Linked DNA regions of Homo sapiens: region 1 is linked to region 2. The links are contacts of gene promoters, found by promoter capture Hi-C in blood cells and fetal thymus (Javierre and others, 2016). All regions are on one chromosome and are shown on one strand. The core of a region is centred on a gene start or on the middle of the fragment in contact, and the rest is flanking DNA. Distances in the headings are between cores, read along the strand shown. Region 1 has its middle 240 kb from the start of CXCR4. Region 2 holds the start of MCM6 (minichromosome maintenance complex component 6).

The links. The method cuts DNA at HindIII sites, captures the fragments that hold promoters and counts their contacts. A CHiCAGO score of 5 or more calls a contact.
Region 1: a fragment that was not itself captured here is called in contact with the fragment with the promoter of MCM6 in region 2 in 1 of 17 cell types (neutrophils); the score reaches 6.8 in neutrophils.

The regions. Positions count from the first base shown.
Region 1 is chr2:136,356,994-136,361,522 of GRCh38, forward strand. No RefSeq gene overlaps it. Among named protein-coding and RNA genes, the nearest start is that of CXCR4, 240 kb to the left of the region's middle. The HindIII fragment of the contact is 983 bases long and covers 2,178-3,160 here.
Region 2 is chr2:135,873,179-135,877,799 of GRCh38, forward strand. MCM6 (minichromosome maintenance complex component 6) reads right to left here and starts at 3,265. Exons shown (of 17, transcript NM_005915.6): 1 at 3,081-3,265. The coding sequence starts at 3,187. RefSeq lists enhancers at 2,355-2,890, 2,660-2,789, 3,480-3,539 and a silencer at 2,860-3,019. The HindIII fragment of the contact is 12,304 bases long and covers 1-4,621 here.

The DNA.
Region 1 (4,529 bases), core at 1,419-3,918, 480 kb after region 2:
AACCTTTATTCAAGCAAATCTTGAGCTCACTTATCTGCACAAACCTTTCCAGAAAGAGCCCAATCTGTGAGAATCATTTCCCCCATCCCTTTGCTGTTTGAAGCTCAATCTGCTTTCTCTCCCGGGCTCACTAACATACTTAAACCCTGGAACTGCTAATGAGATCAGAAAGTGATCAGCTGTCAGTTCCCAAGTGAAATTGATCAGCAATTGTCTCAGGCTAAGGAAAGAAAATGCTTCCCATGACAGCCTGCAGATTTCTCTGATCCTATTTGTGCTCCTCTTTATCATCTATGAAATTTATTTTAGGGGCTATTGCCTCTACAAGATTATCTGCAGAGCCTCATGGCAGGTGCTGTCCACATGTCCACTTTAGAAAGCCCAGAGCAACTATTATCAAAAACCAAGCTCAGGGATGAAGGCACAACAGTCAGAGTTTGTTGCAGCTGTGATTTGTTTAAGAACTAAATACTCCTGGCCAGGTGCTATGGCTCACACCTGTAATTCCAGCCCTTTGGGAGGCTGAGGTGGGCGGATCACCTGAGGTCAGGAGTTTGAGACTAGCCTGGCCAACCAACATGGTGAAACCTCATCTCTACTAAAAATAAAAAATTAGCTGGGCATGGTGGCATGTGCCTGTAGTCCCTGCTTCTCAGGAGACTGAGGCAGGAGAATCACTTGAACCTTTTTTTTTTTTTGAGACAGTCTCACTCTGTCCCCCAAGCTGGAGTGCAGTGGTGCTATTTTGGCTAACTGCAAACTTAGCCTCCCAGGTTCAAGTGATTCTCATGCCTCAGCCTCCTAAGTAGCTTGGATTACAGGTATGTGCCATCACACTGGGCTAATTTTTGTATTTTTTACTAGAGATGGGGTTTCACCATGTTGGCCAGGCTGGTCTCGAACTCCTTGTCTCAAATGATCCACCTGCCTGGGTCTCCCAAAGTGCTGGGATTATAGGTGTGAGCCATGGGGCCCAGCCAAAACTAACCATTTTAAAGCATGCAATTTAATGGCATTTAGTACAGTCAGAATGTTGCTCAGCCATCATCTCTCTAGTTCCAAAACATTTTCCTCACTTCCAAAAAAGATTTTGTCCCCATGAAATAGTCACTCCCCATTCCTTTCACTGAGCATAAGGTTGTCAAGTTTCATTCATGTTTCAGAACTTTATTCCTTTTTGAGCTAAACGATATTCCATGGTAAGGACCTACCACATTTTGTTTATCCATTCATCTGGTGATGGACATTGGATTGTTTCCACTTTTTGGCTAGTAGAAGGAATGCTGCCATGAACATTTGTGCAGAAGTTTCTATCTGGACGTTTTTCATTTTTCTTGGATATATACCTAGGGGTGGAATTTCTGGGTCCTGTGGTGACTCTAGGTTTAACTTTTTGAGAAACTGCCACTATTTTCCAAAGGGGCTGCACCATTTTCCATTCTCACCAGCAGTATATGGGGGTTCGTCGTCCACATCCTCTCAATGCTTATTATTGTCTGTCTTTTTATTGTAGCCATCTTAGTGGGTGTGAAGTGGCAGTCCTCTCATTTTGAGAATGAATAAGCTGAGGGCAGAGAGGAGCTGTGACCTGTTTAGCATCATTGTCTGTCAGTCTCTGGACAGCAAATCTCTGTAACTCCCAATCTGATGCATGTTCCCATCAGAACAGGCATCCTTTCTCAACATTGAGAAAGGAGCAAAGGCAGAGCAGGAAGTGAGGCTGCAATGAAGCCAGGCTTCCCCCACCAGCTATTATGATAGAACTCAATGGCTCACCATGAGTGGAGGATGGCAGCAGTGGGCCTCGGGGGAGGGGGTTCCCACCCAGTGGGCAGTCTGGCTGGGGTTTGCCCAGGCCCTTGCAGGCCTCACTTTACTTTCTAAACTTTTCTTTGATGGCAGAGAGCTTCAACAATGACATAAATTGGCTTCACCTACACATGATTGAGAACCTATTCAAAACTAGTCATAGTTTTACACGTTGGAGCCAAGATAGGAGGTAAATAAAATGGGGCTGAAATTCAACATACAAATGTATAGTCTCAATATGATTCTGTCAAGTGTTGACAACAGAAGGTAGAAGTAGGGCACAAAGGGAACACAGACAAGGGGCTCCAACCCATTCTGGAAAAGTGGAGCAGGAGCTGAAGGTTGAAGGCCTTAAAGTGATGGTGGGAAGCTTGCCAGGCTTGCTCTGCAGACAGAGGTGGGTGAAGTATACAAGCAACTTCCCTGGGAAGGGAGGGAATGGCTTTGAAAGTCAAGTAGCAAGTCCAACAGCCCAAGGCTGCAGTGCCTTGGTGGGTCTCAACAGAGCTTTGCACAGCTGAAAAAGCATTCCTAGCAATGGGCCTATCAGCTTTATATGTGCCGGACCTATAAGCAACCCAACACATAGAATGCAAGCTGAGGACTTTTGGACAAGTGCTAAGAGGTGGAGTGAGAAAGGCGAGCATGGACTAGCTGAGAAAATAACCCTCACAGCCACGAATCAAGCTCTGTGCTTGAATGTGTACCTTATGGAAAGTATGAGGTATCAGGCTGGCTTTGTTGGTAACTCCTCCCCGACATGCAGCATGACTATTTTTCAGTTATGAAGGAAATATTATATCCCAAACAGCCCTACAAATAAAGCCTACTTTGATTCATCTTTTCCATCTTGGTTTGCATAATGCACCATTTTTTTTTTTTAAACATCAGTGTGGTTTCTGCCCAGGTGGGCCTCAGCAAATTGTGAAATAGCTGAGGTTTCTTCCTCAGACCATGTAAGGCTATTATAACTCCACCTCCTCCTGATATACTGTGGAGAGTGATGTATACAGGTGTAATGTGCCCTAGGTGCTGTTACTGTAAAGTTGAATACATTTTTTATTTTAAACCTTGGTTTTAAACTCTTTACTCTTGCAAGTTGTGTTTCCAGTGCTTTGTGCTGGTAGAGATATCTGCTGAGTTCGCTTTGAGGGTCTTTTATATGAAAATCTAAGATCGGTTGACTAGTGACCTTGGCATGCAAACATGAATGTTTGCAGCAAATTTCAGCTGATATTCAAAGTTATTTCTAGTGTAAGAATTCTGGCAGGCTCTAGAATTTATACCTAGGAACATGTAGGAATGGTAATTTTTGAGTTATAAGAGGGTGAGAGAGTAGGAACCTGTCTAAAGCTTTTAAAATAAATTGGTTAGATTATATATTACCAATTGATAAAGAAATATTTCTTAAGACATTTAGTCACATTTTAAGTAGGTGAGGAGATGGTAATTGTTCATATCACAGAATGTTATTTTTAAAAATTGGGATTGCTAGGTGGGTGCCCCAGGTCTCTAAACTAGTGGTCCCTAACCTTTTTGGCACCAGGGACCAGTTTCATGGAAGAAAATTTTTCCATGGACCCAGGGAGGGGGGATGGTTTCAGGATGATTCAAGGGCATTACATTTATTGTGCTTTCTTTTCTTTTCTTTTTTTTTTTCTTTTCTTTCTTTTTTTTTGAGACAGGGTCTCTCTCTGTCACCCAGGCTGGAGTGCAGCCAATCTCGAGATTGCACCAACCTCCACTCACTGCAACCTCTGCTTCCCAGGTTCAAGCAATTCTTCCACTTCAGACTCCCACATAGCTGGGACCACAGGCATGCACCACTATGCCCAGTGAATTTTTGTATTTTTAGTAGAGACGGGGTTTCACCCCATTGGCCAGGCTGGTCTCAAACTCCTGACCTCAAGTGATCTGCCTGCCGTGGCCTCCCAAAGTGCTGGGATTGCAGGCGTGAGCCACTGCGCCTGGCCTGTGTAAATGAAATAATTATACAACTCACCATCAGGTAGAATCAGTGGGAGCCCTAAGCTTGTTTTCCTGCAACTAGATGGTCCTGTCTAGGGGTAATGGGAGACAATGACAGATCAGCAGGCCTTAGATTCTCATGAGGAAAGCACAACCTAGATCCCTCGCATGTGCAGCTTTGCGCTCTATGAGAATCTAATGCCACCTGTGATCTGACAGGAGGCAGGGCTCAGGCAGTAGTGCTTGCTCACTGGCCACTCACCTCTTCCTGTGTGGCCCGGTTCCTAACAGGTCACGAACCGGTACCGGTCTGTGGCCTGGGGTTTGAAAACCCCTGCTCTAAACCATCCATAGCACCACAGTTGTGGAAGAAGAAACATTCTTTCTCCTTTAGAGAATGAATATGACTTTCTTCTGGCTTGGAAGTAAGGCCTACTCTCTAGCCTGTTAGAATATAGACATATAGTATGAACCCTGTCTTCCTCTTTTTTCTTCCACAGATTGTGGAAGGGTTCTAGAGAGGGCACAGGCATCTTCATTTCTCTTATTGGTGCTAGGTCCTGGGCAGCATCTGGCAAAGCCTGGAGGGAGGGCTGAGAGAAGCCTGAGGGATATGGTAGGTCAGGAAGGAGAATTTCCAGGGCTGCATTTTTGGGGCACTCCTGGAGTGAGGGTGAGAAATGAGGGAGTTTTGGAATTTGATGTCTCACCTTCCCTTCTTCCTTCTCTCTCTCCATCCATTCCTTCCCTCA
Region 2 (4,621 bases), core at 2,015-4,514:
CTGATGCCATCCACGTAAGACATCAGTGACTTGCTCCTCCTTGCCTTCCACCATGATTGTGAGGTTTAACTGCTAACTAACAAAAAAACCCAACAACTAACTCTTCTTTTACTACTGTCATGTATAATTAAGATTGGAAAATGTTAAATCAAGAAATTCAGTCTCAAACCCAATGATTCCATTTCTGTAGGGAATTTGCAAACTAACAAATTAGTCAGGGATTTAAGAAGCAGAACAGAAATAAGAATACATGGAAATGAGGTGTTTCACAGCCCAAGACTTCGGGAAAATTGAAACAGGCACACTAAATAAAGCTGCTGGTATTTTTGCTTCTAAAGCCCAAGCAGGATATCATACAAATTTATTTCTGTTCTTTCAAACATAATATGCAGATTCGCCTTAAGAAAAAATCAATTTCTCCTCCATATACAGCATGTTCTGACTCCTTAAAATATTTGTTAAACAACTACGTGCAAAGCCCTATAACAGAGGTACCTGAGGCTGAAAATGGCAGTGTTGTTCCTGCCCTAGGGTTAACTAACACTTTGTCTGCGTCTAGGGAGTTAGACATGTAAGCAATGAAGACAGACAAGAAAGATGTTCCTGTTAATGAGAAGAACAAGAAATGTGCTAGGGGAATAGAAACTAATTCTGCCTAAAAAAACAACTACAAGTTATACATATAAAAGGTGGCGTTGGAATTCAGCTTCTGAAAGAGTTAAAAATTTCAAATAAAAACAGGTGGTGAAGTGACTGACTAGATGATTCCAAGAATGTGATTAAGTCAGAGAAGGTAGGGGAGAAGTGTGGATGATGACTGGGGTGTTTTTGTAAGACAAACAGGAAAGAGGAGTGATGAAGAATTTGAACTTTATTCCACAAGCAATGGTGAATTAAAGTTTATTTTGTGACAGGGAGTTGGCATTTCTTTAAACAAAGCACAGAGATTATTTGTCTCATCATTATCATCTAGCTGCAAAGTCAAGGCACTTAGATTATTTGTTGAAATGAAACGTTTATTGAAAAACCTTTGTAATGTGATGTGGTGGGTAGGTGGGGTTGAGGATGGAATTTGAATTCCAGACTAAGTAGCTAGGAGGTAAATGTGTTACACTGCCAGAGATAATGAAAAACAAACAGCACCCTGGGAGCCTAAGGAAGAAAGGATTAGTGCCTCTCAAAAAGGTGTACAAGGTTTCACAAAGGTGTGAGTTTTTAGCTGGGCTTTGAAGGAGGAACTATCAGGCAGACAATAACATTGCCATAGGTAGTGAAATGGAAATTAAATTATGGTTTTAAGTATACCAAAATTTCCTAAGAAGGCAGCATTATTCACAATAGCCAAAAGGTGGAATGAACCTCATTATTCACAATAGACAAAAGGTGGAATGAACCTGTGTCCACTGAATGGATAAGCAAAATGCAGTATATATACAGGTTGAGCAGCCCTCATCTGAAAATTTAAAATATGAAATGGTCCAAAATCTGAAACTTTTTGAGTGCTGACATGATTTTCACTGGAGCATTTCAAATTAGGGATGCAATTGGTTAAGTATAATGTAAACATTCCAAATCTGAAAAAAAAATCCAAGATCCCAAACTCTTCTGGTCCCAAGCGTTTCAGAAAAGGGATACTCAATGTGTACAGACAATGTTATTTAGCCTTAAAAAGTAAGGAAATTCTGACACATGCTACCTCGCAGAGGAACCTTGTAGACATTATGTTACACAAGCCAGACACAAAAGGACAAATACTACACGCTTCCACTTATATGAGGTACCTAGAGTGGTCAAACTCATAATGAAAGGAAGCAGAGTGGTGGGTGACGGTGGCTGAGGGAGAGGGTAACGGAGGAGAGTTCGTGTTTAATGGGCACAGAATGTCAGTTTGGAAGATGAAAAGAGTTTGGAGCCGGACACGGTGGCTCACGCCTGTAATCACTTTGGGAAGCCCAGGCGGGGGGATCACCTGAGGTCGGGAGTTCAAGACCAGCCTGACCAACATGGAGAAACCCCATCTCTACTAAAATACCAAATTAGCCGGGCGTGGTGGCGCATGCCTGTAATTCCAGCTAGTAGGGAGGCTGAGGCAGGAGAATAGCTTGAACCCGGGAGACGGAGGTTGCGGTGAGCTGAGATGGTGACACTGCACTCCGGCCTGGGCAACAAGGGCTAAATTACGCCTCAAAAAAAAAAAAGTTTGGAGATGGGAGAGTGGTGACGGCTGCACAACGAGGTGAATGCACTTAGTGCCACTGGACTCTACACTTAAAAATGGCTAAAATGGTCAACTTTGTTATGTATATTTTACTAAAAAAGAACTTCAAAAGCCATTCCAAACTGCTGACCCTTCATCCTGGAGGCCGTGGTGTATCTGCTCCAGGAAAAATAACCGGTGGGTGAGGCAAGCCAGGGAGGAGGTTGGGGTTATGAAGCTAGGAGCCCAGAGGCACAGAAAAAAAGAAGAGTAGAGAAAGGAAAGGAAGGCCAGAGGGAAAGGGGAGCAAGGGACCCAGAAGAAGGGATATGGTGAGCTACTCTCTGCAGGGCAGGGCTCCGCCCCCCAGCAGCTTTCAAACCACAGTTGACGCAGAAACTTTCATCAGCACAAGAGGCGAGGGTGGCCCGTGCCCTGCGAACCCCCAGCACCATGCTCCCGGCTGCGTGGCCCAGCAGGGCACCGACGAGATTCAATGGCACTTCGGCCTCCCACTCGACCTGGCCGCACCCAGCGGCCCAGTTACTATACTCAGCGAGCCCAGGTTTCCGCGCCGGTCACCGAGGGCTGTGCAAATACCAGGCTCGCGGGGTGGTGAGCATCAAGTGACAGAAGCAAAGCGCTGAGCACTGGGCACGAGCGTCTTAGGGCTCGAGATGGGTTTTACTCCAGAAAAACCCAGCCTGTCCCAGGCTCCTCGCGGCCGCCGGGCTCGGAGCCTAAAGTTGGGGGGCGGGCGGGGAGGCGCTTCCCGGACGCGCGACCCCCAGGTTCCGGAACACCCGCCGCCCACACGGCACCGCCTGGCCCAGACGCCGCAGGCTCCGGAGGCGGGCGAGGCCCGGGGCGCTCGCCGACTTACTCCTCCAAGAAGTCCAGGAACAGTTTCTGGCACTTCTCGGCCACCTCGTCGCGGACCTCCAGGTGCTGGCTGCCGGCGCCCGGCTCCGCTGCCGCCGCGAGGTCCATATTTGCTTAGTGCCGAGGATTCGCCTGCGCCACGCTCGACCGCCACAAGTCGCTTTTTTCCAGACGCTGCAGCTTTGCGCGCGCCGCCGCCGCTTCCGCCCCGCCCCCTCTTCCGACCTGCACGGCCGGAACCAATCGTGACACAGGAGCTGGAGATTTCGCGCCAAACCTGACCAATGAACGGCGCCTCTCCAAGAGCCCCAGCCCACGGAAAGGGATTTCGCGCCAAATGCAAAGCCCTTCTGGAGAAAGCCCATCTGCCTTTGCGCCTGCGCAGTGTAGCCGTGGCCCGCGGGTATTTTTGGCTGCTGGAACAAGTTCGAATCTGAGGGTTTTGTCCGAGTGGTTTTTCAAATGTTCTTTAAATCATTCCACTGATATTAATTGAACGATCGGAGTAAGACTCTATGGAAGAGAAAAATGAGTAAGCCGCTTCTGCTGTCTAGTTAGAGGAAATAATGGAAACCACAGTATAAAACCCTGTAAAAGAGTCAAAGAGATGTCTAAACCTTGCATGGGTAAGGTGGCACAATTATTGTGGTGGTGCTGACCGAGGAAAATCAGCGAAATATTTGACATTGGCCGGGCGCGGTGGCTCACAACCTGTAATCCTAGCACTTTGGGAGGCCGAGGCGTGTGGATCACCTGAGGTCAGGAGTTCGAGACCACCCTGGCCAACATGCAGAAACCCCATCTCCCCTAAAAATACAAAAATTAGTCGGGCGTGGTGGTGCACGCCTGTAATCCCAGCTACTCGGGTGGCCGAGGCAGGAGAATCGCTTGAACCTGGGAGGAGGAGGTTGCAGTGGGCCGAGATCGTGTCACTGCACTCCAGCCTGGGCAACACAGTGTGACTCCGTCTCAAAAAAAAAAAAAAAAAAAAGAAAGAAAAAGAAAAAGAAAGAAATATTTGACACTTTGATTAATCTTTTTTTCTTTTTCTTTTCTTTTTTTTTTCAGATGAAGTCTCACCCAGTCGCTCAGGCTCGAGAGCAGTGGCGCGATCTCGGGTCACTGCAACCTCCAGCTCCCGGGTCCAGGGGATTCTCCTGCCTCAGCCTCCTGAATAGCTGGGATTGTAGGCGCCCGCTACCATGCCCAGCCAATTTTTGTATTTTTAGTAGAGACAGGGTTTTCGCCATGTTGGCCAGGCTGCTCTCAAACTCCTGACCTCAGGTGATCCGTCTGCCTCGACCTCCCAAAGCGCTGGGATTACGGCCGTGAGCCACAGCGCCCGGCCTTAATACCCTTCTTAAAATGCACTATTGGCTTGAGTTATCCTTATGTTTTTTTCCCCCATCTTTCCCTAACCATTTCACTTGGTTTTTCTGCCATCTCTTTGGCCATTCCTGATTAGCATCCTTTGTAGGCGCCTCTCCTTCAGTGAGTCTTTTAAATGTTCTGGTTCCAGAGCCTTCTTTTCCCGTAAAGTCG